4 separate regions of the Homo sapiens genome follow, and all the other regions are linked to region 3. Evidence: promoter capture Hi-C in human tissues and cell types (Jung and others, 2019). All regions are on one chromosome and are shown on one strand. The core of a region is centred on a gene start or on the middle of the fragment in contact, and the rest is flanking DNA. Distances in the headings are between cores, read along the strand shown. Region 1 overlaps FAM20B (FAM20B glycosaminoglycan xylosylkinase). Region 2 overlaps ABL2 (ABL proto-oncogene 2, non-receptor tyrosine kinase). Region 3 holds the start of SOAT1 (sterol O-acyltransferase 1). Region 4 overlaps ABL2 (ABL proto-oncogene 2, non-receptor tyrosine kinase).

Region 1 (5,530 bases), core at 1,079-3,578, 240 kb after region 3:
AGGTGTCCTGCTGTGAAAAGATAAACTTTGCCAGTAATGGGGAAATACAAAATAACAATGAAATAACAATGAAATATCACTTTACATATATATCAACAAAACTTAGTGTGTTGGGCAATACAAAACACTGGTACAGAAATGAGGAACTTTATGCCTGTTGGTTTCCAACAAACAGGATAGGAAGAAGGGAGTTGGGGACGAAGAAAAGAGGCAAACAGATAAGGTCTTGGAAAGCCTGATTCTAGTGTGCCATTAAGTGAGGAGAAGGATTTATCCAACTGTCCACCACTAGGTCTTAAAAGGGGCAGCAAAAATTCATGGTATTGTACACACATATCTAAGCTTTTCCATATCAATAGATGTTTAGGTTACAACCAGTTTTCCCACTATTGAAAATGCTACAGCTAAGACTGTTGTATATATATCTTTGAATTTTGTATTCTTTCTCTAGGGTAGTTCCTAGAAATGTCTTAGATATGTGTATAAAAAAGCAGTTATTTGTTCAAAGGATATGAACATTCCTTAATGTTGATATATTTATCCTTAATTTTGATATATAATGCTAGGGTTCTTAACAAAAAGACTGAAACAATTAACAATGCCATAAGCAGCATATGAATCTCAATGTATTCCTCCCAATAAAGTATTATCTTTTTTTTAAGCTTTGCCATTTTCAACAGGTAAAAACAGTATCTCATCTGAATTTTTAAAAATTTCTGGTGAGGATGAACCTCCCCCCACCCCACATATTTATTAGCAATTGACAATGTTTATACTCTTAACCCATTTTCTAATAGAGTTTTAACATACATATGTTTGTATAAACACATATTAAGACCATTAATATTTGTATAAACACATATTAAGGCTATTAATACTCAGATTACATTAGATTCAAGTGTTTTCTCCGTTTGTTGTTTGCTTTTAAATTTTGTCTCTTGCTATATAAGTTCATTATTTTATTTAGTCAAGACTATTGAATTTGTGATTTTTAAGTTATTGCTTTTATGTTTACAAAATCCTAATTCAGAAAAAGACAAACATTTCACCTTTTTTTTTCTGGTTTCCTTATAAATTCATTTTTAGGCTGGGCGTGGTGACTCACGTCTGTAATCCCAGCACTTTGGGAGGCTGAGGTGGGCGGATCACCTCGAGTCAGGAGTTCCAGACCAGCCTGGCCAACATGGTGAAACCCCGTGTTTACTAAAAATACAAAAAATTAGCTGGGTGTGGTGGTGCGTACCTGTAGTCCCAGCTACTCGGTAGGCTGAGGCAGGATAACTGTTTGAACCCAGGACGTCGAGGTTGCAGTAAGCCAAGATCAGGCTACTGCACTCCAGTCTGGAGGACAGAGTGAGACTCTGTCTCAGAAAAAAAATTTATTTATTATTTTATTTTATTTTATTGAGACAGGGTCCCACTCTGTTGCTCAGGCTGGAGTGCAGTGGTGTGATCACAGCTCACTGCAGCCTCGACCTCCCAGGCTCAAGCAATCCTCCCTCCTCAGCCTCCCCACTAGTTGGAACTATAGGCACACGCCACCACACTCAGCTAATTTTTGTATTTTTTTAGTAGAGACGGGGCTTCTCCATGTTGTCCAGGCTGGTCTTGAACTCCTGGGCTCAAGTGATCTGCCCACCTCAGCCTCCTAAAGTGTTGGGATTACAGGTATGAGCCACTGCATCCAGTCATAAATTAATTTTTTAAAACAAATATTGTTAGCAGTTTCTTTTAAAGTCAGCCAATATGGCCTTATGAAAGAGCTGGTCAGCAGAGTAACTGGGATACCAGACAGTTCAGCTGCAAGGTTCCTGACTAGTAACCTGCTGAAAAAGAAAAAAAAAGAATTTTCCTAGTTAACTTACAAACTTATAATTCACATCTATTTTCTTTCCTTTTTTTTTTTTTTTAAAGACAGAGTCTCGCTCTGTCGCCCAGGCTGGAGTGCAGTGGCACGATCTCGGCTCACTGCAAGCTGTGCCTCCTGGGTTCAAGCGATTCTCCTGCCTCAGCCTCCCAAGAAGCTGGGACTACAGGTGCCTGTCACCACGCCCAGCTAATTTTTTGTATTTTAGTAGAGACGGGGTTTCACCATGTTGCCCAGGCTGGTCTCGAACTCCTGAGCTCATGCAATCTGCCCACCTTGGCCTCCCAAAGTGTTGGGATTACAGGCATGAGCCACTACGCCTGGCCCTTTCCTTTTGTAATTATTCTGGTTTTTGAAGCTGTGCATAGTTTGTATAAAGAATAATAAAACTCATATTTCATGCTATATGTTTCCAGCACATGGAAATAAGTCAGCATTACTTACTTAAAACAAATACATAACAAAACAACAGGATGGCTAGACCCAATTAACGACCAGTTCAATTCAGAGATTTAAGTTCAAAGTTTATTTACCAAGAATATCTTCACTGATGATAATAACAGAGCAGGCCAGAAATGAAATGACCTAAAGAAGCATGGAAGTAAAATACTTCAGTATTCCTGGTGCCAACCAAATTATGAGACTCATACAAGTTTAATGGAACTAGTCAATTAGCTATCTAAAATCGATAACAAGTTATTTATTAGTGTTGCATCCTTCTGAAGGAGTCCACGAGTCCTCTCCAAGAAAGATTTTTGAAAGCAAACAAAATGAACATAAGCTGCTGTGATCATACGCACCTGTCCAAGTGAAAGGCTGCTACCTCTGCATTGTGTCTATCATAACCAGCATACGGTTCCCCTTCCACCACATGGTCTCGGCTATACCTGCAAAGTGAATGGGAAGCACAGATGTATACGTGGATTACACCAGTAACAGGTGACAGCACAAGTGGTAGAATACACCCATTAGCAAGCCTGATTCTGCTATAGTCACCTTCTCTGTCAACCCTGCAAACAACTGTGGATTAGCATGAATTGCCGGTAGATGGAATGAAGATGAGGTAGAGAAGGAAACTAGAATTCTCTATCTACGTCACCAATCATTCTAAGAATAAAACATGGAAGCTGTCATTTTTGCCCCACTAAAGGGCTTTTGATGTAGTTTTAGTACAGATAAAAGGTAGTTTTCTGGAAGGCAAGGACTGTCTTTGTATTGCCAGCACAGTGTTAAGCACATAGTTGGTGCTTAATAAATGTCTACTAAAATGTTTATTAGACTGACCTGAAGAAATGAAGAAAAATGTGTAATTAAAACTTTTGCTGGCCAGGCACGGTGGCTCACACCTGTAATCCCAGCACTTTGGCAGGCCAAGATGGGTGGATCACCTGAGGTCGGTAGTTCGAGAACAGCCTGGCCAACATGGCGAAACCCCATCTCTACTAAAAAACACCAAAATTACCTGGGTGTGGTGGTGAATGCCTGTAATCCCAGCTGCTCAGGAGGCTGAGTCAGGAGAATCGCTTGAACCTGGGAGGCGGAGGTTGCAGTGAGCCGAGACTGTGCCACTGCACTCCAGCCTGGGCAACAGAGTGAGGCTCTGTCTCAAAAAACAAAAAACTTTTGCTTACCAGAATGGCTGTGGCAAAGCTTATAAGAGAAATTTAAATTTGGGGGAAAATAGTCTGATATAACTCAATCTTTGTTAATGGGAAGGCAACAGCGCTTTTGAAAAAAGTTGTTTGAATAACCATTCTTGTTCTTTTTTTTTAAGTTTATGATGACGTACTACAAGGAGTCCTGGACTGGCAGTGGGAGGTTGGTGTGGCTGTCATTACTTGACTGGGTAAGCTTGAGCAAAACCTTTCTCTTCTCTGGGTCTCAGATTCCTTACTTACAATATTAGGGGCTGGACTAGGAGGTAATTTCTAAGGTCTCTTTCATCTCAGACTGCATTCTGATGATTTTCTATCACATGTATGACATAAGCAAAGGATAATGAAGACTGGCATATTTCTTTCTACTAACCATTTTAAAAGATAGAATTTAAATCTGTTAATTAGGAAGAAAAAAGTACTTAATTCACCTATGTCCTCTCTATTGGTCTCCTGCATTTCCTGAATCTAAAGGAGACCTTTTAGGCTTTACAATGGACCTATGAAATAGAAATAAATTGAGAGTGATGTGGAGAAGAGAGGTTCCACTAAGGATAGTTGGCTCTCTCATGCTAAAACAGCAATAGGGAAGTGGAAAACAGTACTATAAAAGGCAGTGAACTTCAACTTAAATGACCTTAGAATATAAAGTGAAATCATATCCACAAAATATATCTTCAAGGCAAAATGATGAAGCATTTGTTAGAAGACAGCCATGTATCACCTTCTGGTTGGGCACCAGTTTCTTCTTAGCATGGTCAATATACCCAAATGTAATTTTTTGTTTGTTTGTTCCTAGTGCAAAGGATTACTTAGGAATAATTTTTTAAAAGGTTTATATTAGCTACCTCTAAATTAAAAGTCAAATTTGAAATACCCCTGCAGCAAAAAGCTGACACTATTCAGGTACTGTTCTACTACAGATGTAGGCTATCCTTGAATACTTTATTTTTAGTACTTCAGGGCAGCCACAGGAAGGTATGTGGTGAAGTGCAGTATGGTCCTTTCAGTGAAACATTAGAGAGCTTTCCAATCCATCTAAAGGCTGCGCAGAGTAAAATGCAAAAGCTTAGAGGAATACAGGAACTTTGGGAGTGGGCAGGAGAGGAAAAGATGGAGGGAAGAGAAAAGGAATAAGAATCAAAAGAACTACACTGAAGTCAGGCCTGAATCCTCAGCTCATGTTTTGGTTATGTGAAATATGGAAAATCAGAATTCTGGATCTCATTTTTCTCACCTGTAAAATGGACAGTTGGACTAGCTGATCTCCAAGGTCCCTTTTAGTACTTCCTGAGATTACTCATTCACTTCTACGCGCTTCTAGGCCCCTGCCTTCTTGTTCTTTTTCCAACATAACTGCTGTTTTTGCCTGTGAAAATCAATTACTTCTAGAATGGAAATAGCTACATTAAAAAAAAAATCACCTTTACTTATAATGTAAGGCAAAATGTGTAAATAAAAGTGTCACTCTATTCCCATATATATCATCTACCTATACTGCACACACCTTGTATCTCTGAGAGCAGGACATGGATAATCAGGCTCCAGAAATGTTAAAACCACAAGTGGCTTTCAGAGAAAGGACTTAGATTCTTCTCTTACCAGAGAGTGATCCATCTTAAGTCACTGACAGAGCAGCAAAATTCATACAGTAACTGCCAATAAATCATTCCTATCCTTCTGCTGAAGGACATCAGAGTATGACCAAGGACATTAATTTGCACTTACACCAGGACTAAATAAATAGCCTCTGAAGCCCTGGGGGTCAGAACAGCATTTTGCTGGGTGTTTAGGGACTGGAGTCAATTTCTGCAAGCACTTAAACTTACAACCACTTTCCCCAGCCTGTGATATTTCCTGATATAAAGCAGCACAGGTCAGTATGTGCAGTGACTAAGAGAGTTAGCACCTATGGCAGGGGCCAAAAAAAACCTTGCTGAGTTGGAGAAGAGAGTGCCCTGTTGCTGGGAGTGGACACAGGCTGTTTAGGAGATGATGCGGGAGCAGG
Region 2 (5,057 bases), core at 650-3,149, 190 kb after region 3:
ATGGCTGGAGTTCCAGAGGATGGAGAGCAGCCGGGCTGGCCTTCTCCAGCCAAGGCTGCCCCCGTCCTCCCAACCACTCACAACCACAAAGTGCCAGTCCTTATCTCACCCACTCTGAAACACACTCCAGCTGACGTGCAGCTCATTGGCACAGACTCTCAGGGGAATAAATTCAAGCTCTTATCTGAGCATCAGGTCACATCCTCTGGAGACAAGGACCGACCCCGACGGGTAAAACCAAAGTGTGCCCCACCCCCACCACCAGTGATGAGACTACTGCAGCATCCGTCCATCTGCTCAGACCCTACAGAAGAGCCAACTGCCCTAACTGCAGGACAGTCCACATCAGAAACACAGGAAGGAGGAAAGAAGGCAGCTCTGGGCGCAGTGCCCATCAGTGGGAAAGCTGGGAGGCCAGTGATGCCTCCACCTCAAGTGCCTCTGCCCACATCTTCCATCTCGCCAGCCAAAATGGCCAATGGCACAGCAGGTACTAAAGTGGCTCTGAGAAAAACCAAACAGGCCGCTGAGAAAATCTCAGCAGACAAAATCAGCAAAGAGGCCCTGCTGGAATGTGCTGACCTACTGTCCAGTGCACTCACGGAACCTGTGCCCAACAGCCAGCTGGTAGACACTGGACACCAGCTGCTTGACTACTGCTCAGGCTATGTGGACTGCATCCCTCAAACTCGCAACAAATTTGCCTTCCGAGAGGCTGTGAGCAAACTGGAACTCAGCCTGCAGGAGCTACAGGTTTCTTCAGCAGCTGCTGGTGTGCCCGGGACAAACCCTGTCCTTAATAACTTATTGTCATGTGTACAGGAAATCAGTGATGTGGTGCAGAGGTAGCCACTGTTAGCCTGGTGGGAAAATGCACACATTTCTGAGGGGAGAGGGAAAAGGACTTGTTTTCCTGTGTTCTTGTTTTCAGAAAATGAAAGACTCATACTTGAGTGTGTTTATGTGAAGTACCTCAGATCCCTGAGTTCTCACGTTTACAGTTTCATCTCAAAAATAAGAAGCAAACCACATAAGTATAGGAGAGGTAAATTAAGTGGGGGCAAGGCAGTAGTGGACAGGGTTGGAAACTGCACTGGAAAATAGGGAACATGTGTATGTCATAAGGAAGGCAATGCAGCCCATCCCTACCTGGAATGCTGGGAAGTGCTAGGCAGGGCTGCTCTCAGCAAGACTGCAGCAGCTGCACCCAGACCTGGGGCTCTGGTAGGTACTAATGGTGATTATGCTCCAATTTACCTAATGAATTTGGTGGGACAGCAGAAAAGAAAGCTGGGAATGTACCAAGAGAAATTTTTGTTCAGGGCTGTTGGAAGTAGCTGTTAGCCTTGCTTCCACAAGGCCATTGCTGCTGTAATAAGAACTGCAAATCAGAGTGCTACAACATAAAACTGGGAAATATGGCCCTATCTGAATGCCTCTGTCCTATTTTCCGCTGGTGTATCAGTTAGTGCAGGAAGTAAAGAATGCTGGAAAGTTGAATCAGAAATTGAAAACCTTCTAAAATCTTACACAGATTAGCAGAAGTCACTTCTCCCAGTCTGGTATATTATTTCATAATGGACCAGGATCGGCTTCCTGCCTGTTGGTGGCTATCTGTAAACCATAAGTACAGGGGTCTCCCTAGTGGTTCTTCTCTGTCTTTTGCTGGGCAGGCTGTCTTCCTTTATTCCTGGTAGCATTCAGAGCATTAACCAGTGTTGATTTTGAAAATAGTAGTCCCTACAGGTTCTCACAAAGGAATGAATCCTGTTCTGATACAGTTCCCCTGCATACTGACATACTGGCCAAGGACTTGAGCAGCTGTGTATTTTTCTTTATCAACTAAAATACCAGGGAGATGGTCTTTTCTTGAAACCCAGTGGCCTGTATGTGACTGAGAGGAAAAGCTGGCTTGGTCCTAATGGCTGTTTCTCTGTACCTTTCCCTTCCCTTACCACCTTAAGCCCAATCCAGGTAGAGAATAGGGAGAGGCATTCTCCTCTCTATGGATTTGAAGTGAATCACCCCCACATTATTCTCACATGCTTTTCTTCTCTCACATATTCCTCCCTACTCCCCCACCCAATCATTGTGCTTATTTGTACAGATCTTATTGGGAATATTCTTTATTTATTTTGTCATTTCACTTCTATTTTAAGAATGCATAATTGAAGGAGTAGTCATTTTCAGGGAGCACCAGGTAGACCCTGGGAACCTAATGACTTAATCCTTAAATATGTTTTGCCCTTGAAAAATAGGCCTTTTCCTTCCTTCCTTAGTTATAATTGTGGAAGCTAATTAGGATGGCATGGAAGTGAATCTAATGAGTTAGGTATTATTAATGTTCTTGGTATCGGGTCTAATTCCAGTTACTGCTTCATTCTCTTTTTAAAGCTTTATGAATACTTCCCCCATCCTCCCCAAGGAGAGCTCAATACACACATATTTTTATTTTATTCTCTCAAAGGAATATTAGCTTAGGAAGATAGGAATTCAACATTGAGCACTGAGTTTTCTTCTGGCTCTGTCATTGATACACTGTCAAACCACAGCCTCATCTCTTAATCTATTTAATTAAGGTAACAGTACATGTTCTCAAGGGTGTTGCAAGTAAGTGTGCAGCTATCCCTTGGAGAGCCTCTCTGGAAAGCTCTTTTAGTGCAGTGTTGTTATGCTGAATTGTTTTCCATTATCTTATTTGCTGAGTAGAAAATATTAATGAAATTAAGAATTGTTGAGATTATATGAATTGGGCTAGAATACTAAGGGGAAAACTATGTTTTGAATAGAGTTTGGCATTTTTGACCAAGAACAAAATTGAGTTTTCATTGGAAAGAAAGGAAACCTTGATTCTTACCATTGCTGCTCCAAAGGAGGCCCAGGTTAAGAGGATTAGAGGAGACACGCGGTGCTGGGCATTCCTGGCAGGTGTTGGGTGATCCCCGCAGTATGTCACCTGCAGTTGCAGCACAGGCAGCTAGTGATTGGGTTCATCTCCTCCTAGTGGTTGGAAGAGAACTCAGATGTAAAAACCAGCGGTCCTTCTCCCACCTTCTTTCCTGCCATTCTTGCTCATCATACATGTCCGTAAACTTGAAGAACTCGTTTTAGCAGCTAGCCTTTTAAGGTCGAGGATGGGAAAGCTAAAACTGTAGAATATTATTATGCTGCTTTTTAGGTTTATCCCTGTTGTTGTGGGATGCAAGTTAAGGGATTGTAATTGTTTTTCAGGGTTTTTTTGTTTTTTGTTTTTTAAGCAAGGGCTCTATTTTCCCTTGAGAGTTCTGGAACTAAGCCTTGGAGAAACACTACTGAGTGTATTTAGGCTCCCTGGTTTTCTTGCCCAACAACAATCTGAAGGGTAGGGGGTGGGGGCTGTGTCTTACTCAGGGGCAGCACCTAGCTGTCTTGCCTACAGTGGGTGCACGATATATAAATGGAATTGATTTTTGTCAACACTGTCAAGAGTGGCATTGACTATTGGAGCATACCCCGTCCACATGATGCTTGAACTATGTAACTTCAGGGGTTGAGGGCTCAAGGTTCAGGTTAAAGAGGCACTGTCAACTTACTATACAAGCATAATTTAGGTTTTTCCTTTTTCTACTTGAAAAGGACCAGCTTAAACACAAACCCTTATGTAAATTAAAAGGTTTGAATCCAAAGCAGAGAGAACTGCTTCTGGAAAAGTGTAGTTTAATTTTAACTATTCTAAAAGCAATGAGCAAAGGCCCTTGTCCAAGGCGTTGACAGTTTTCTAAAGTGGTTATGCTGTATATCTGGATGCATGCCTTTGGGCTGCCACTGCTTGATTCCTTTCATGTACAGATAATATTACTTCAGTTTAGATTTCCCACTTTAAAATGCAGTGATTTGTGTTGAATACATCTTGATTGTGCTTTACCTAAAGTATTTTCTTAAAAGGCTTTGTGTAAAATTTAAATGTATATATTTTCCTGTAGACTTCCATCATGATTTTCAGAGATTAGCCTTAAAAAATTTGGCCCTAAGAAATTCATTCAGTGTTTTTCTAGATGACCTCTGTACATAGAGGTCATTATAGTGGAGACCCTTTACCAGCAGCATTTTAAGATTTAAATTAGATAGAAAGTTTCTTAGGATTCAACTGAAAATTGGCTAGTAAAATATGTCCCAGGTAATAAAGCATGCTGACTTTGCTAAGGCACTGCCCATTTTTATTTAACTAAAGTCATGGAGATTTTGAGTTTAAAGGATGCAGTATAGATAGTGGTTTAGTGTTTAGGCTCTAATGCCAGTCTAAAAGGCAAGTCATTTAACCTTGGGAGCCTCAGTTTCCTCACTGTAAAACAGGGATAATAATAGTAACTACCTCAGGGTTGTTGTAAGGATTAAATGAGATGATATTTGTAAGATACTTAGCTCAAGTGCCTGGCACACAATGAGCACACTCTATAAATGTTCTACTACTACTATTATTAACACCTAGTCTAGGGATGCACAGCAGAATCCCCTAGGGTTAAAAAACAAAACAAAACAAACAAAAAAAACTGACGGAATAGCCCCACTCCAGATCAGAATTCCCAGTGGGCTGGGGTCTCGGCCAGTGTATTCTCCAGTAATCTCGCCAGGTGTTTGAAACACCCAGTGCTATCTGAAAACTATCAGTACCCCAACCCTTTGGTTTATAGATTAAGAAACTAGCAGAAGATGGTTAAATTACTTGCCTATTGTCTCAGAACGGTTAATTAGTGGCGGAGCCAAGGCTAGAATTCAAGTCTCTTGACTTTATGGTTGTGGGGTCTTTCCACCATACCTGCTGCCATGTGAGACACTGCAAAAAAGTGGCTCAGACCGACAATCAGCCTGTGTGGTGCTGCACACTTTCTAAAGCACATGCTCCTGACACTTTGACCTTAAGGGGCTTGAATGTGGAGTAATGGGAACACAAGCCAAGCAAGCACTCAGTAGAATTCAGTCATTTAAAAAATTCAATGGGGTCATTCTTTTGGACAGACCTCAGCAACACAGCAATGTGCACTTTGTAGTAAAGAAATACCAACTTGAGTTTTTAAAAA
Region 3 (5,478 bases), core at 100-2,599:
CACTCAGTAGGTCTTTATCCTAAAAGACTGCGAAACCTCAGATGCATTCTAAGCATGTGATTCACTAAAACACGTGCATTTCTAAACGATAATTCAGTGCCACAGAGCTCCTTCCAAAACCCATTCTCACACCCAGACAACGCACAGACTTCCTTAACAAGTCATTCACTGACACCGCCCAACTTTTAAAAAGAAAAAAAAAAAGCTTCAAATTGAATTCTACTTCAAGGAAGAGGAAATCAAGCAGGCTGAAAAAAAGAAAAAAGTGGTTTAAACAGGTGGCAGCCACTTAAATATTAAAAAGTGACCAACAGGCCAGGCGCGGTGGCTCACGCCTGTAATCCCAGCACTTTGGGAGGCCGAAGCGGGCGGATCACTTGAGGTCAGGAGTTTGAGACCAACCTGGTCCAACATGGTGAAACCCCGTCTCTACTAAAACTACAAAAATTACCTGGGCGTGGTGGCGCACGCCTGTAATCCCAGCTACTCAGGAGGCTGAGGCACAAGAATCGCTTGAACCCGGGAGGCAGAGGTTGCAGTGAGCCGAGATTGCGCCACTGCACTCCAGCCTTGCGACACAGCGAGACTCCGTCTCAAACAAACAAAAGTGACCAACGAACTTAACCTAAATATATATACGGAGAATAAAGTTTATATAGTTGTTTCTCACTTAGAAATAACCTTTCAATATACATATTATTTAAATTACATGACCATTAACACTTAGGGAAAACAGAAACTTACCTACATCCTAATATTTTACAATAAAACATGAGCTTGATTAAAGGTTCTGGTGCCCCTACAGATTTTCATGTCTTGCTAATACCATCCTTCCCTTCACACATTTTCTCTAAATCATTAAAAAGCTGACTTCCTGAGTGCATTTTTGGTTTCGCTTTTTAAAGAATAAAACGTCTTCTAATTCCTAACTTTCTTTACTACTGACTTGAGAGATGCCACGAGATTTGCGGAACACCAAACCAGCGTGCAGGGTTTAAAAGGCTGCCCGTGACCCGGGCGCCTGACGGTAACTTTCCCGCCCTCCCCTCCCCAACTCCCCTGCAGTCGCCGAGCCTCGCCTTCTCCGCAGCACAGCCCAGGACAAGGCCGGGCCGGAGCTGCTGCCGCCACCGCTTCTCCCTTCCCCGCGGGCTGAGGCCGGTGGACCCAAGCGGGAAGCGAGGAGAGGCGCGGGAGCACCACCGTTACCTGAGGCCCGCGCCCGGCAGCGGGCACTTCGGCCAAGAGGGCAGAGCCGGGAAGCGGTCACAGAGCAGCCAGCAGGAAGGTCGACTCCGGGAAGCTCTCCTGGCGCCCAGGGCCCGCAACGTCGCCTGCTAAGCTAAAGCGCCGGACAGCCCGGCCCCTACGCCCCCTGCCTCCGAGCACCGCTGCGTCACGCGCAGGGCCACCTCCGGCTGAGCATCCTATTGGTGGTCCCCAGGTTGCCAGGCTCCGCCCACCTCCCCGCCCCTTCCCGGGCGCGCGGGTCCCCGGCGCCAGTGCTCGCAGGCTGGCCCTGGCAACCTGCCAAGGAAGCTTCTCACCCGGACATCATGATACCGGCGACAACATCTTGCTTGACACTTCCACCCCAGCAGTAGAATGTGCAGCCAAAACGGGACTGCGACAACTCCCTGCAAGCCCGAAACGGCACCCTGCGTGGTAGCATGGAGCTGCAGGGGCGTTTGGCTCCTAGGCCGACTGGAAGAAGCCGCTTCTGGAGCTGTGGATCATTGCAGTTTGAACTGACCATCCAGGAACAACGTAGAACTAGCCAGAAGCAAGAATCGCTGGCTTATCTGCACACCAAGATTCGTGCCTTTATCAGGAGATTCCTTACCGTTTGAAAACCAGCGTCCTTCAGCAACATTCAAACTAGATAAGGGGAAAAAACCTGCACCAAATAATAAAACACACCAAATAATGGAACAACTAAGTAATATTTAAGGGCCCTTGAGGCCAGGTGCGGTGGCTCACGCCTGTAATCCCAACACTTTGGGAGACCGAGGTGGCTGGGTCACCTGAGGTTAGGATCGAGACCAGCCTGACCAACATGGTGAAACCCCGTCTCTACTAAATACAAAAAATTAGCCGGGCTTGGTGGCGCGCGCCTGTAATCCCAGCTATTCGGGAGGCTGAGGCAGGAGGATTGCTTGAACCCGGAAGCCAGAGGTTGCAGTGAGCCTAGATTGTGCCATTGCACTCCAGCCTGGGCAATAAGAGCTAAACTCCTTCTCAAAAAAAGTTTTAAAAATAAAATAAACAAAGGGCCCTCGTGACTTCATAATCAAAAGAAGAATGATGCAGAGAGATTTGGGACAGAGATTAAATACAACAGTTAATCGCTTGGAATTTGTGAAGGCAGAGGTGTACGTAAATTTAGGGTAAAGGTAGGTGAAAAGGCAATGATGAGAGGAGCAGAGACTGAAGAGTCGCACTCACAGCCTGCAAACTAATACCAGCTAGCCTGGCCTGACTAATCGCTTCTTCCCCACTCCTCCCCAGGACAAAAATCCCTGAACAAACAGATGAGGTTTAGCAGAACTGACTACTCTCTGGGTCCTTTAAACAAAGTGGATTTGTACACGTTCCCTTGGCCACCCAGCAGGCTGCACTGTTCACTCAAAGCAGAAATGGCCCTCAGCATCCAGTCGAGTTTAGTACTGGCTGTCATTGGCAGATCTGCTCCGTTTGGCCTCTTCTACAACTGTGATTGCCACGTGTGCTGACTAGTTGGTGACAGGGTCTGGTAGACCCCCAGCTGCTTCCCCTCCCCACTCCCACTAGTTATAGAGCAGTAGGAACATAGGCACTCATTTCTATTGGGTCTCTGTTGGCTACCTTCTATATACACCAAGATGACTGGCCTTTTCACTGTTTGATTCATTCATTCAAAAAATATTGATAGTATTCTTGGTGCTAGAAATACAGTGGTGAATAAACAGAAGAAGCCCCTGCACTTAGAGGCTTATGTTCTGCAGGACTAGGTATGAAAGGAAACAAACAGGTGGCTCAAGCCTATAATCCCAGCACTTTGGGAGGCTGAGGCAGGAGGATCACTTTGAGGCCAGGAGTCCAAGACCAGCCTGAGCAACATAGTGAGACTCCCTCTCTACAGAATTTAAAAACAACAACAACAACAACAACAATGACAACAAAATTTGCTGGGAATTGTGGCAGGCCCCTATGGTCCCAGCTACTCGGGAGGCTGAGATAAGAGGATTGCTTGTGGTGGGGGATGGGGGGTGAGGGACGGAGGATGCAGTGAGCCAAAAAATCATGCCACTGCACTGCAGCCTGGTCAACACAGTGGGACTCTGTCTCAAACAACAAAAGCTTATGTTTCTAATGAAGAATATAAATAATAAAACGAATAGATGAGATAATCACTGGCAGTGATAAGTACTGAGCAGAAAACAAAACAGAATGGTCAGGGAAGGATTTTCTGAGGAGATAATTCAGGAGCTAAGACCTAAATGACAAGAAGGAGCCAGCCAAGCCAACCATGGGGAGGAAGAACATTCTAGACAGAGGATAATGGGTGTCAAGGCCCCGATGCTGAACTGTGGCTGATGCTGAAGCGTGGCTGTTTGAGGAACAGGCCAGGAGGCTTGAGCATGTCAAATAGGGGTTTGAAGTTGAGTTTGGAGCATTAAGCAGGAACCTAATCACGTTGTTTGGATTTATCTGTTAAGTGCAAAGGCAAGATAATGAAGGGTTTGGGTTTTTGTTGTTTTGAGATGGGGTCTCACTCTGTCGCCCAGGCTGGAGTGCAGTGGTGCAATCAGGGCTCACTGCATCCTCTACCTCCCCAGGCTCGCTAAGTCATCTTCCCACCTCAGCCTCCCTAGTACCTGGGACTACAGGTGGGCGTCACCACACCAGACTAATTTTTGTATTTTTTGTAGAGACAGGGTTTCGCTGTGTTGCCCAGGCTGGTCCTGAACTCCTGGGCTCAAGTGATCCTCCCGCCTCAGCCTCCCAAACTGCTGGGATTACAGGCATGAGCCACGTGCCCGGCCATTGGTTTATTTTTTTTTTTAAATCAACCTATTTTATAGAGAATGACTTGAAGGGAGCAGCAATGGAACAAAAAGGAGCCGAAGAACAATACAAAGTTATTGGGCAAGTTCAGGGGGTAGATGGTGGTACCTGGACTAGGCTGGTTGGTGTGGAAATAGAAATTGAAAGATTTCAGGATATTTTCCCGAGGTGCAGGTGTGAAGAAAGGTAGTAAACGAGATGACTCCCAGGTTGTTTCCTTAAGCAATTGAGAGGATGGGGATACCATTTAGTGCAAGGGCAAAGATGATATATGATTGGAGGGACTCCAAAGCCTGTGCTCAGACTCCAAGCCTCTCCCACCACTGCACTGAAAATCTCACATTACTCAATCCTTGGAAATCAAGGTTTGGTTAAATGCAAGTGTTGACTTCATCATATTGAAAAAAAAACAGGTGTACAGAACTTGTATAGTTGCTAGTGCTAAGAATATGAATAAGACTGTCTATTGGAGACACTAATAGGTATAAGCCATTTCAAAACAATGAGATAAGTGTTACAATAAAAGGATGTTAAAGGCCAGGCGTGGTCGCTCACACCTGTAATCTCAGCACTTTGGGAGGCCAAGGTGGGCGGATCACCTGAGGTCAGGAGTTCGAGACCAGCTTGGCCAACATGGTGAAAACCTGTCTCTACTAAAAATACAAAAAATTAGCCGGGTGTGGTGGCAGGCGCCTATAATCCTAGCTACTTGGGAGGCTGAGGCAGGAGAATCTCTTGAACCTGGGAGGCAGAGGTTGCAGTGAGCCGAGATCGCGCCACTGCACTCCATCCTGGGCAACAGAGCAAGACTCCCTCTCAAAAAGAAAAAAAGAAAAAGATGTTAAAAAAAATTCTTTACAGTGGCTCATGCCTGTAATCCCAGCACTTTGGGAGGCCGAGGTGGGCAGATCACTTGAGGCCATGAGTTCGAGACCAGCCTGGCCAACATGGCAAAACCCCATCTCTACTAAAAATACAAAAAATTAGCTGGGTGTGGTGGCAGGCACCTATAATCCCAGCTACTTGGGAGGCTGAGGCAGGAGAATCGCTTGAACCCGGGAAGTAGAGGTTGCAGTGAGCCGAGATTGCGCCACTGCACTCCAGCCTGGGTGACAGAGCGAAACTCTGTCTCGAAAAAAAGGCTGGGCGCAGTGGCTCACCCCTGTAATCCCAGCACTTTGGGAGGCTGAGGGGGGGCAGATCACCAGGTCAGGAGTTTGAGACCAGCCTGACCAACTTGCTGAAATCCCATCTCTACTAAAAATACAAAAAAAAAAATTAGCCGGGCGCCACGCGCACACCTGTAATCCCAGCTACTCAGGCAGCTGATGCAGGAGAATCGCTTGAACCCGGGACGTGGAGGTTGCAGTGAGCAGAGATCGCGCCACCGCACTCCAGCCTGGGTGACAGAGGGAGACTCTGTCTCAAAAA
Region 4 (5,706 bases), core at 1,424-3,923, 150 kb after region 3:
TGAGAGCAGCCTGGGCAACATGGTGAAACCACTTCTCTACAAAAAAATACAAAAATTAGCCGGGGGTGATGGCACACACGTGTGGTCCCAGCTACTCAGGAGGCTAAGGCTGGAGGATTGCTTGAACCTGAGAGGTGGAGGTTGCAGTGAGCTGAGATCATGCCACTGCACTCCAGCCTGGGCAATAGAGTGAGACTTTGTCTCAAAAAAAAAAAAAAAAAGAAAAGAAAAGTGGTGCTGATAGACTTGCTCAATGTAGGGTTGCCACAAACCTTCAATTTGTGAAAAACACAGCGTCTGCAAAGCACAGTAAAGCAAAGAATAATAAAACAACATGTACTTATACTATTATTGACTAACCTAAAGAGAGTTAATCTTGCAAAAGCTGAGGTCTCTCTATTGCTTTTTTAAAAAAAGTTTATAGATTTGGAGGGTACAAGTGCAGTTCTTCCATGGATATATTGCCTAGTGGTGAAGTCTGGGCTTCCAGTGTAACCATCACCTGAATAGCATACATGACATGGGACCCAATAGGTAGTATTCCACCTTTTGGAGTCTCCAGAATATATTATTCCATTCGGTATGTCCATGTGTACCATTGTTTAGCTCCCGCTTACAATGAGAACATAGGGTTTTTGGCTTTCTGTTTTTAAGTCATTTCACTTAGGATAACGACCTCCAGTTCCAACCATGTTGCTGCAAAATACATGATTTTATTCTTCTTTATGGCTAAGTAGTATTCCATGGTATATCTATACCACATTTTAAAAACTCCAGTCATCCATTGATGGACACTTAGGTTGATTCCATGATTTTGCTATTGTGAATAGTGCTACAATAAATATATGGAGTGCAAGTGTCTTTTTGATAGAATGATTTCTTTTCCTTTGGGTAGATACCCAGTAGTGGGATTGCTGGATTGAAGTATAGTTCTACTTGTAGTTCTTTGAGAAATTTCTATACTGTTTTTCGTAGAGGTTGTGCTAACTTACATTTCCACCAACAGTGAATAAGTGTTCCCTTTTCTCTGCATCCTTGCCAACATCAGTTGGTTTTTTTTTTTTTTTTTTTTTTTTTTTGCATTTCTCTGATGATTAGTGATTGGACCATTTATTCATATGTTTGTTAGCCACCTATGTGTCATCTTTGGAAAATGTCTGTTCATGTTCTTAGCCTACTTTTTAAATTTTTTTTTTTTAAAGACAGGGTCTGGCTCTGTCATGTGGGCTGGAGTGCAGTGCTGTGATCTTGGCTCACTACAGCCTCAACCTCCCAGGCTCAGGCCATCTCTGGGCTGATAAGAGTCTATAGTTGTCACCAGTAAAGGAGAATTTGTATCCTGTCTTTAGGTAGAAAAGCAAGAGGATATGGAGAGCTTTTCCCCTATTCATTGCTTTAGGCTCAAAAATAATTTTTATGTCAGAGACATATTTTGGGGTGATATATCTTTTTCCTTTCCTTTTTCCTCATGGCAGAAGGCAAAGGAGAAACAGGCACCTTCCTCACAGGGTGGCAGGATGGAGTGAGTACAAGGAGAGGAAATGCCAGACGCTTATAAAATCATCAGATCTTGTGAGACTCACCATCACGAGAACAGCATGGGGGAAAATGCCTCCATGATCCGATTATCTCCGCCTGATCCTGCCCTTGACACGTAGGGATTTATGGGGATTACAATTCAAGATGAGATTTTGGGTAGGGACACAGCCAAACCATATCACTTGGGACTCAACCTCAAGATATCTCATTATATATATGCACATATTCTAAAATCTGAAAAAATTTTAAACCTGAAACACTTCAGGTCTCAAGTGTTTTGGATAAGGTATACTCAACCTGTGCTACTGCTGCTTCTCAGTGAATTACATGGCCATCTACCCAGTTACAGTTAAGCCTAAAACCTGGCAGCCGTTCTTTATTTTCTCCTTCTCTCTTATGTTGTATCCAAGTAATCTGCAAGCCCTGTTGATTCCCTCTTCAAACCATATCGTTAAGTTCTTCCACTTTTCTTTGTCTCCACTGCCACCATCCTATTCTAAGCCAACATGATCCCATTGCTGAACTACTGCATAGTTTTCTGCTTCTAATTTGGTTCTCAATGTAATTCATTTTTTTTCATGTAATAATGGTCTTTTAAAAAATGGAAATCAGCAGCCTGGCCAACATGGCAAAACCCCATCTCTACTAAAAATACAAAAATTAGCCAGGCATGGTGGTGCACACCTTGTAATCCCAGCTACCCAGGAGGCTGAGGCAGGAGAATCGCTTGAACCTGGGAGGTGGAGGTTGTAGTGAGCCAAGATCACGCCACTGCACCCCAGCCTGGGAGACAGAGCAAGACCCTGTCTCAAAAAAAAAAAAAAAATGGAGATCAGACCATATGGCCATCCTGCTTAAAACTGTTCACTGGATTTCCATTGCACTTGGAATAGAATCCTAAATCCCTAAGCACTTGATTTGGCCAGCCCCTGTCTACCTTACTTTGTTTCATGCTCATCTTTTGACTTCCGTAACAGTAGCCACACTTCTTATTTCCTGTACATACCAGGTTCTTTTCCTACCTCAGAGTTTTTGCATTGAACTTGCTACATTGTCTACTCAGAATGCCCCCGCTCCTCCTCATCTTTGCTTAGATTCTTCTTTTGCTTCTGGCCTTAGTTTGTCACGTTCATTAAAGTAATGCACTTTTCCACCTCAGCCTATTAAAGAGATTTGCAAAAACTGAAAATGCTACTCTTATCTTCTTAATTCTTTTTTGAAAATAGTTTTCTTTTTGGTAAAAATATGTTATTAACATAATGGGTTTATTGTTATTTTAGAATTAATAGGTATTCAAATTTCTCATTAAAATTTCAGGTTTAATTTCAAATATAGTAAATACTGATAGCTATAACATAAACAAAAGGCCTTTGGAGACCTTAGTAATTTTAATTTTTAATTATGACAAAGTATCAGAATTTACTATTTTAACTATTCGTAGATGTACAGTTTAGTAGGATTAAATATATTCATAATGTTGTATAGCCATCCATTTGCAGAACTAGACTTCCAGAACTAGAAAAATTCTAAATATTTCATGTAAGTAGAATTATATAATATTTGCCTTGATGTGTCTGGCTTATTTCACTTAGCATCATATTTTCAAGGCCCATCTACATTGTAGCATATATCAACATTTCATTCTTTTTATGGCTAAATAATACTTCATTATATGTATAGACCACCTTTTGTTTATCCATTTATCTCCTCTTTATTCCAAATTATGCTATAAGTAATTGAAAATGTAACTACTAATTATTGGTAATTTAAATAGAAGATTTATTGATTAAATAGTAAACCATATGGTATAGAGTCTACATATGGATAGAATGTGGATGATGAAGATCCTTTCCCATACCTTTTTTTCTATAATCCGGAGAATGAGATATTCAATCTGGTATTTGAAATTCTTAGTCATAATTGTGGTAACCTTTAGTCATCTAACTCTTTTATTTGTCCCTTGATGTTGAAAGTACTGGCTTTATAAAGGATAATTTTATTGAAAACATAAGCTTTGTTATTTTAAATAGTTAATAATTACCTACATTAAAGTTATTCTTTCTCTAATAAGGTTAAGTTACCATTTTATTTTTCAATTTTCTCTAAGGCTGTTTCAGTCCTGTCATCCTATTATCTTACCCTGTTACTTATATTGACCTAGAACAGGGGCTGGTACATAGTAGGTGCTTAATAAATATTTATTGAGTGAATGAGTGTTCTCAGATACACAGTTAAACAAACACTCTTTTTTTTGTTTTTTTTGAGATGGAGTCTCGCTCTGTCGCCCAGGCTGGAGTGCAGTGGCGCGATCTTGGCTCACTGCAAGCTGCACCTCCTGGGTTCATGCCTTTCTCCTGCCTCAGCCTCCCGAGTAGCTGGGACTACAGGCGCCCGCCACCATGCCGGGCTAATTTTTTGTATTTTTTGTAGAGGTGGGGTTTCACTGTGTTAGCCAGGAGGATGGTCTCGATCTCCTGACCTTGTGATACACCCACCTCTGCCTCCCAAAGTGCTGGGATTACAGGCGTGAGCCACCGCCCCTGGCCTACAAACGCTCTTTAATATTATTTTTGTAGATCATACATTAAAGTCATGTATTATTTGTAGGTTTTACTAGTTTAATTCTCATAAAGTACTATCATTTTCAGGTTTTTAAATTTTCTTTAACTTTGTTCCTGTTTATTAACAAAGATTGGGCTTTTTGCTTTAAAAACTTTTAACACTCAGGCTGGGCATGGTGGCTCATGCCTGTAATCCTAGCACTTTGGGAGGCTGAGGCAGGTGGATCACGAGGTCAGGAGTTTGAGACCAGCCTGGCCAACATAGTGAAACCCCGTCTCTTCTAAAAATACAAAAAATTAGCTGGGCGTGGTGGCGGGCGCCTGTAATCGCAGTCACCTGGGAGGCTGAGGCAGGATAATCACTTGAACCCGTGAGGTAGAGGTTGCAGTGAGCCGAGATCGCGCCACTGCCTTCCAGCCTGGGCGACAGAGCGAGACTCCGTCTCAAAAAATAAATAAGTAAATAAAAATAAATAAGTAAATAAACTTTTAACACTCAAAAGTTTTCAACACTATATTGCCATGTTTTTAACCTTTATTAAGCTATAGAGCCAGATTGTTAGCAAAGGCAGTTATTTCTTGGCTTCTGTGCTCATGAATCAGATCACAGCTATTTCTTTGACTTTGGCTTTGTGGTTTCTTGAACTATTTAAGTGATGTAAAAGATGAGTCTTGTTAGGCGTTTCCTTTCTTTTAAAAGTGTATTTCGTGTTTTATTGTAAACAGATTTTCTCCAAGGAAACTTTTCTCTCTAGTCTCACCTCATCATCTCCCTATAAAATAGAGATATATTAACTTCTACATTGTTTTATTATTAGGCTATTTGTTATACATATATATGTTGGTTTTTATTTTACTTACATTTTAAAAGTGTTCTCAGAGATTTTGAAGTAACTCCATTCTGACTCAGTCTTTTGCGGATTGCTGGAAATTTTCCTTTAGGTCACTCTCCACCCACTTTGGGAATTGTGAATGCTCACCATTTTATTGGTTCCCTCTGGCCACTGAGTACATGAGTAAATGTCACATGCATGTGGTATTGCTTGTCAGAGAATGGAATTCTAAGACTTCCTCTTTACACAGAACAGTTTAACTTTTGTGCTTCTGGGCAGAGGTATGGTCCTTGGGACAGTTCTCCTTCCACCTAATAGTTATGGCAGAGATCAGGACACTTCACTTTGCTGCCTGTGCACTGAGGCCTCAGAATCTGCTCTACCCGACTTAACAGGTATGGTTCAGAGTTGATAGTTTCAGGGAGGCTTGATAACCACATTAATCAAGTGTGAATGAAGATTTCAAAAAATTCATCTTATCTGCTACTGTTTTTGTCTTCATTCTTGGTCAGTGAAAGTTTGTGTGCTTTCTTGGGGGAATATCTCATAGTAGGATCTCAATAAATACTGAATGGAAGAATGTATGGATAATATGTAGTATTTTGTAATAATAAGATATAGATGGCTTGATGTGAAGAACTTAAGCTATATTGAAAACTGTTGAATAATTTACCTTACATAATTTTTAAAAGAAGTTATTAAAACTTATTAGCTTCTTAGAGAATATACAGTCAGATAAAGTAGAATTCTGGCAAGATAATGTTTATAAAATA

Evidence for each region. The method cuts DNA at HindIII sites, captures the fragments that hold promoters and counts their contacts. A contact is called where the count stands out against the background at its distance.
Region 1: a fragment that was not itself captured here is called in contact with the fragment with the promoter of SOAT1 in region 3 in 1 of the 25 tissues and cell types used here (bladder).
Region 2: a fragment that was not itself captured here is called in contact with the fragment with the promoter of SOAT1 in region 3 in 1 of the 25 tissues and cell types used here (mesendoderm cells).
Region 4: a fragment that was not itself captured here is called in contact with the fragment with the promoter of SOAT1 in region 3 in 6 of the 25 tissues and cell types used here (IMR-90 fibroblasts, aorta, heart left ventricle and 3 more).

The regions. Positions count from the first base shown.
Region 1 is chr1:179,047,503-179,053,032 of GRCh38, reverse strand. FAM20B (FAM20B glycosaminoglycan xylosylkinase) reads right to left here. Exons shown (of 8, transcript NM_014864.4): 3 at 2,668-2,754. Among named protein-coding and RNA genes, the nearest start is that of FAM20B, 24 kb to the right of the region's middle. The HindIII fragment of the contact is 3,652 bases long and covers 503-4,154 here.
Region 2 is chr1:179,103,510-179,108,566 of GRCh38, reverse strand. It overlaps ABL2 (ABL proto-oncogene 2, non-receptor tyrosine kinase), which reads left to right. Exons shown (of 12, transcript NM_007314.4): 12 at 1-5,057. The coding sequence ends at 849. Among named protein-coding and RNA genes, the nearest start is that of TOR3A, 24 kb to the right of the region's middle. The HindIII fragment of the contact is 5,184 bases long and covers 1-4,491 here.
Region 3 is chr1:179,289,668-179,295,145 of GRCh38, reverse strand. SOAT1 (sterol O-acyltransferase 1) reads right to left here and starts at 1,349. Exons shown (of 16, transcript NM_003101.6): 1 at 1,210-1,349. RefSeq lists an enhancer at 645-1,152 and a silencer at 1,365-1,554. The HindIII fragment of the contact is 6,238 bases long and covers 1-2,439 here.
Region 4 is chr1:179,142,555-179,148,260 of GRCh38, reverse strand. All of the region lies in intron 1 of ABL2 (ABL proto-oncogene 2, non-receptor tyrosine kinase), which reads left to right. Among named protein-coding and RNA genes, the nearest start is that of TOR3A, 63 kb to the right of the region's middle. RefSeq lists an enhancer at 4,419-5,618. The HindIII fragment of the contact is 9,613 bases long and covers 1-5,706 here.